2 separate regions of the Homo sapiens genome follow, and region 1 is linked to region 2. Evidence: promoter capture Hi-C in 16 types of primary human blood cells and fetal thymus (Javierre and others, 2016). All regions are on one chromosome and are shown on one strand. Each heading gives the region's core, a stretch centred on a gene start or on the middle of the fragment in contact. The rest is flanking DNA. Distances are from core to core; before and after follow the strand shown. Region 1 overlaps LOC339166 (a long non-coding RNA gene). Region 2 holds the start of WSCD1 (WSC domain containing 1).

The links. Contacts are between HindIII fragments. The CHiCAGO score rates a contact against its expected background, and 5 or more counts as called.
Region 1: a fragment that was not itself captured here is called in contact with the fragment with the promoter of WSCD1 in region 2 in 1 of 17 cell types (endothelial precursors); the score reaches 8.1 in endothelial precursors.

The regions. Positions count from the first base shown.
Region 1 is chr17:5,810,033-5,812,732 of GRCh38, forward strand. The region is part of intron 1 of LOC339166 (a long non-coding RNA gene); the gene reads left to right. Among named protein-coding and RNA genes, the nearest start is that of NLRP1, 230 kb to the left of the region's middle. The HindIII fragment of the contact is 3,306 bases long and covers 1-2,700 here.
Region 2 is chr17:6,068,745-6,071,685 of GRCh38, forward strand. It overlaps WSCD1 (WSC domain containing 1), which reads left to right and starts at 1,635. Exons shown (of 9, transcript NM_015253.2): 1 at 1,635-1,908. RefSeq lists an enhancer at 871-1,702. The HindIII fragment of the contact is 6,207 bases long and covers 1-2,941 here.

The DNA.
Region 1 (2,700 bases), core at 30-2,529, 260 kb before region 2:
GTGCTTTACATCGATTCACAGGGCTCAGTGGCAGGGACATGCCAAAACGCACCCAAACTCAATACACAGGGAATGTGACTCTGATCTATTTCTTCACTTAAGGGAGTCATTTCACAAACAGCAAGGGATGCCAGAAGACCTCAGAGTTCAAGAAAACTGCCTATTGTGTTTCCTAAAAATAAGAAATCACTTTGAGCCCTGCACTGTTATAGGTAAAGGCAATTTCAGAAAGCCTTTAGTTCCATTGCCCAAGTTAAAAAAGGGATAATTTGTTTTAGTTTTTATCCAATTTATACATATACCAAATTTGAAGACCCTGATAGGTCTATGAGGCTTGTTATTGGAAACCGTCCTCCCTCTTTCTCATCCCTGGAGGCAAGAACTTTCAAGATTTTAGCCCATTCTTGTGGTATTGATCTCTTTGCTTTATATAATAATCTTGCAGCTATTTCTATATTGTGTAGTGTTGGGCACTATCTCCTGGTTTCCTACTGTGAATAAGATGGATTTAGCTCTTTTTTCTTCTCACTGCTCTTCCCCCATTCTCTTTCCTCCCAAAACATGGTGAAGATTTTGGTGAGATCACCACCAGGTTTATGTTACAATCCCTATGTAAGTGCTTTTATAGCAGGAACGTGCAGTGTCCTATGATTACTTTTTCTTTCTTTTTTTTTCCCCTTGGGACAGGGTCTCACTCTGTCACCCAGGCTGGGTGCAATGGCATGATCTCAGCTCACTGCAACCTCCACTTCTCCAGTTCAAGTGATTCTCCTGCCTCAGCCTCCTAAGTAGCTGGGATTACAGGCATGCACCACCATGCCCAGTTAATTTTTGTATTTTTAGTGGAAACGGGGTTTTACCGTATTGGCCAGGCTGGTCTCAAACTCCTGACCTCAAATGATCCACTCACCTCAGCCTCCCAAAGTGTTGGGATTGCAGGCATGAGCCACTGCACCTGGCCACGATTACTTTTCTGCATACTATGATGGCCCAGCCTTTCATCTTCCATGCAATTCATAACTGTCCTGGGTCTTTCATTTCTCTCGTTTTCTGTGGATTTTCCAATAATCCAATGCCAAGCTCTCTGCCAATTGTCTAGATTTCCCCAGAAGGTGTTCAGACAGATATACTATATGTTTCATTTTCCTGAAGAAACCCCTAACCAGCCTGTCAGAGGTGGGTGTTCTCCCAGCCTGCTGCTTAGTTGACATCTGGGACCTTCCATCACATCATTGTGGAGATTCTCTTTGCCTGTCTCCTGGGTTGGATCTCCTGTGTACTCTGTCCCCTGTATCTCTTTCTCTGTTTACCCTGCTTATTGGGGACCAACCCATCTCTGCTGTTTTCATGAGAAACAGTGCCTGGAAGATAGACTTTTGACATCTTGCATGTCTGACAATATCTTCATTTGACCTTTACACATAATTGGTAGCTTTGCTGGGTAAAGACTTATAGGTTGGTAATTATTTTCCTTTCAATGTGGATCCTTCAGTTTTGGGATTTTTAGTCAATTGTTCCTTTCATCATTTTCTCAGGTCCCCTTTCTGAAATTCCTTTTGTTTAAATATTATACCTTCTGGACATGTCTGCTAACATATTTTTCTCCTTTCCACCTTTTTGTCTTTTGGGAGATATCTCTTCACTCTATCGTCTATCCTAATGAGTTTTTCATTTCTGCATAATTTTAGAAGCTATTTGATAATTTTAGAAGTTTTTTGATGTTTATGTTATTTCATTCTTTTTTTTTAATCGGTGCCATTTTCTGTTTTTTTGAGATAGAATCTCACTTTGTCACCAGGTTGGAGTGCAGTGGCATGATCTCGGCTCACTGCAACCTCTGCTTCCTGGGTTCAAGTGGTTCTCCTGCCTCAGCCTCCCGAGTAGCTGGACTACAGGCGTGAGCCACCATGCCTGGCTAATTTTTTATATTTTTAGTAGAGATGGGGTTTCACCATGTTGGCCAGGATGGTCTTGATCTCTTGACCTCATAATCTGCCTGCTTCAGCCTCCCAAAAGGCTGGAATTACAAGCGTGAGCCACTGCGCCTGGCCTCATTATTTTTTTACAGCAATCTTTCCTCTCTGCAAACCAAAAATAAAATTCTAAGACCCCCACAGCCATCTAAAGGGACCCCTCCTCTTGGCCAAGGGCATTCCAAAGTTAAGCTGAAAAACAAGTTCAGGCCATGATGGGAAGAGGGAGCTGGACATGCCTCATTATCCCCTCTGCCCTTTTGGAATTATGGATAGAACAGACTCTGTACATCTGAGAAGAAACATTTACAGTCTATTCTCTCTGTATCCTGCTACCTGGAGTCTTTGTCTGCATGATAAAGCCTTGGTCTCCACAACCCCTTATGGTTACCCAGACATTCCTTTCTAGTGATTTTTTTTTTTTTTTTTTTTTTTGAGACAGAGTCTTGCTCTATCACCCAGGCTGGAGTGCAGTGGTGCAATCTCGGCTTACTGCAAGCTCCACCTCCTGGGTTCATGCCATTCTCCTGCCTCAGCCTCCTGAGTAGCTGGGACTACAGGTGCCCGCCACCACTCCTGGCTAGTTTTTTTTATTTTGAGTAGAGATGGGGTTTCACCATGTTAGCCAGGATGGTCTCAATCTCCTGACCTCATGATCCGCCTGCCTGAGCCTCTCAAAGTGCTGGGATTACAGGCATGAGCCTCCGCACCCAGCCATTCCTCTCTA
Region 2 (2,941 bases), core at 385-2,884:
ATATATATGTGAAGGGGGCTTTTCTGCAAGGTTGGGACTCTGAGGCAGCACAGAATTCGTCTCTCACTTACTGTATCCTCTTCCTGGGCTTAAGGATATTAAATCCAGGTGCCCCAAGACCTTCAGAGCATTCTGCCTTCATGCGGATGGTGCAGACTCTGTTCTAATTCTGCACTTGGCCAGACATAGCTATGCAAACTGCAGCGAGTCTCTTCCCGCTCTGGGCGCCACCTGACTGACCCGCGTAAGGAGGGACTGTGACTGGTCCCCAGGCAAACGCTTTCCCTGCCACCTGCACCTGTTGCAAGCCAGCTCCTCGGAGCCAGGCCAAGCAGCTCTGCCCCTAGCGGGAGTCGGAGGCATGAAACTCCCTTTTAGGAAGACGGAGTAAGAGGCACCACCACCTGCTCCTGCTGCCTCTGCTGTCCTCAGCTTCTGGGAGCATCTTAGCAGCCAGCTCCGGGTGAGGACAGGGTCCACCGGTGCACATGGCAGAGCAGGGCAGATGCTGTGACTTGGCGGCTTTGGGGGAACAGGGTGGGGCTCCTCCCTGGGAAAAATCTTTAGGTTTGGATCCAGCCTTTATTTAAAGAGGGGGATTGTGTATAGACTTGTGTGACTGTTCAGCCTCTTTCCACCTCGGTGCGTGTGTGTGTGTGTGTGTGTGTGTGTGTGTGTGTGTGTGAGAGAGAGAGAGAGAGAGAGAGCCTGTGGGTCAATGCCCAGTATGCCCCTCTGAGAGTGTGTCTGTTAGTAGACACCAGTGTGTGACATTGCTTCTGTGGGCAACTATGTCAAGGCGTGGGTTTGTCACTGTGTGCGGTGTGGAGCAGTATGATAAGCCGGCGGCCGACCCCCGAGTGTGTAGACGCGGGAGCTGGTGTCAGGGTATTTGTAGGGCTGCAATTCTGTGTAGGTCTGTCTCAGATTGTGTGAGAGTGTCTGTGTTCCAGCAGGTGCTTGTTTCTGAGTGTGAATGTGTGTGAAGCTGTGACCGTCTGTCTCTAGCTCTGCATGGGACGGTGATCCGGTGTGTGTGTGTGTGTGTGTGTGTGTGCGTGCGTGTGTGGTGTGTGTGTGTATTAGAGTGCACTCTAAACTGTGTGGCTGTGTGTGTACGTGTGCGTGCCTGTCACAGTGGCCCAGTCTGCTTCTGGGTGAGTGGGGCAGAGCCCAGAGAGTGTGTGTGTGAGTGTGGGTGTCGGTGTCTCTGGGAAGCAGTGATTCGGGATGTGTGTGTCAGGCAGTGTGCGGCTGTCGCTGTGAGTCTGCATGGGAGAGTGGCGGCGTGCTCTCCTCTGCGCGGCAGTGCCCCGTGTGTTTGTGGGTCTGTGTCTGGGTGTGAGCGTCATGGTGCGTGTGTTAGAGCCCGTGGGGCCCCGGTGAAAGGCTGTGGCTCTGGGTGACTGGTGTGTGTGTGTGTGTGTGTGTGTATCAGAGTGGGTGGCGGCGTCTCTGCTCGGCAGTGGCGCGTGTGGCCCGCCCCGCGCGCGTGTTCTCGCGGGCCGGGGCAGGGCGTGGGCCCCCTCCGGCGGAGCCGCGACCCCTCCCCCGGGCGGCGGGAGGTGCGCACCGGCGCCTCTAGGACCCGGCGGCGGCCGGCCGCTGTCCCCGGGCCGCGCGAGTGAGCATGTGCAGAGCCCGGCGCCCGCTCGCCCGCCCGCTGCCCGCCCCGGCTCCGCGCCCGCCCGCCCGCCCCGCCGTTCAGCCCGGACGCCAGCAGCCCCGGGGAGCCAGGCGGCGGCGCCCTGTGCCCGGGCGCGTGGGTCCGCTTGCCGCGGGCGGCCGGAGACGTGCGGGCGCCGGGGCTTCTGGGCTCCGGGCACTGCGGGGGGCTGCGGGCTCGGCGCCCGGGGAAGGCGGGCCATGGGCGCGGGTGCGGGCGCCCCAGCCGGCCGCGATCGCGGGGTGAGTCCTGTCTCTCGGCGCTCCAGCCGGACCCCCGCGCGGGCTGCGAGCAGGGTGTTCCCCTTGCCGCGGGCAAACAAGTTTGTGCAGACGCGGTTGGGAGCGCGGCGGGGCTGCACCTGCTCCGGCTGCAGGGCGGGCTTGCCGGGGGCACCTTCCCGGGGGCCCGGGGCGGCTCGGCCGGGGCAGGGGAGAGTGAGCGGGTGCGTGCAGGGGTTGTGGGGGGGCGGGGGCGGCGCTCGGCGCGGCCGGGATGGGGTGGGGGTGCGCGAGGCGCCGCACGAGCCGCGTCCCCCTCCGGAGTCCTGAGAGCCCGTCCGTCACCCGGGAGGGCGCTGCGGTTGGTCCCGGGGAGGGGGCGAGGGCAGGGTGTGGGGTGCGCACAGCTTCCCTCCTAGGCGGCGACGTTTACCCAGAAGCAGCTCCCTCTCGTTCCGCTACCAAGAGAGGCTTCCGGTCAGCGGAGGGTTTGCTCCGTCTCTTGGTGAACTTGAACAGAGGCAGAGGCAAAAGCAAAACGTATGTATTTTGTCCAGAAAATTACCTAGTGTAGAGCTTTGCGTCTTCGTAGGTGTGGACGGAGACTCACGACTGAAGGTTGCTAAATTGCGTTTTTCTTGGCTACTCAGGAGCGTACGTACCTGGCTGGGTCCCCTGCCTCCGGGTAACCTCGCTGGTGGTTTTCCTGAGCATTTGTGCGCCTGGGATGATGCCTGCTCTGCTGATCGGGAATGCGGGTGGGGAAGGGGACCGCTCTTCCTTCCGCTGAGCAGTGGGAAGGCTCATATAGGAGTTCTAGCCTCATAGCCCTGCACTGGGATCCAGCTGCTCCCCACACTGGCCCTGCCCCTGCAGCTCCCAAGATGGACAGATGCAGGACTCCGCTGTACTTTTCTAACATGAGATACCCGCATCCCTCTTGTTGCTGGAACAGCATGCTTAGGTTTATGGAGGCACTTGGTTTATCCCACTTTGGCATCAGGAGTGGGGGCCTTTCTTTTTTCCTCTGATTTGCCTAGGTTGTCAGGCACAG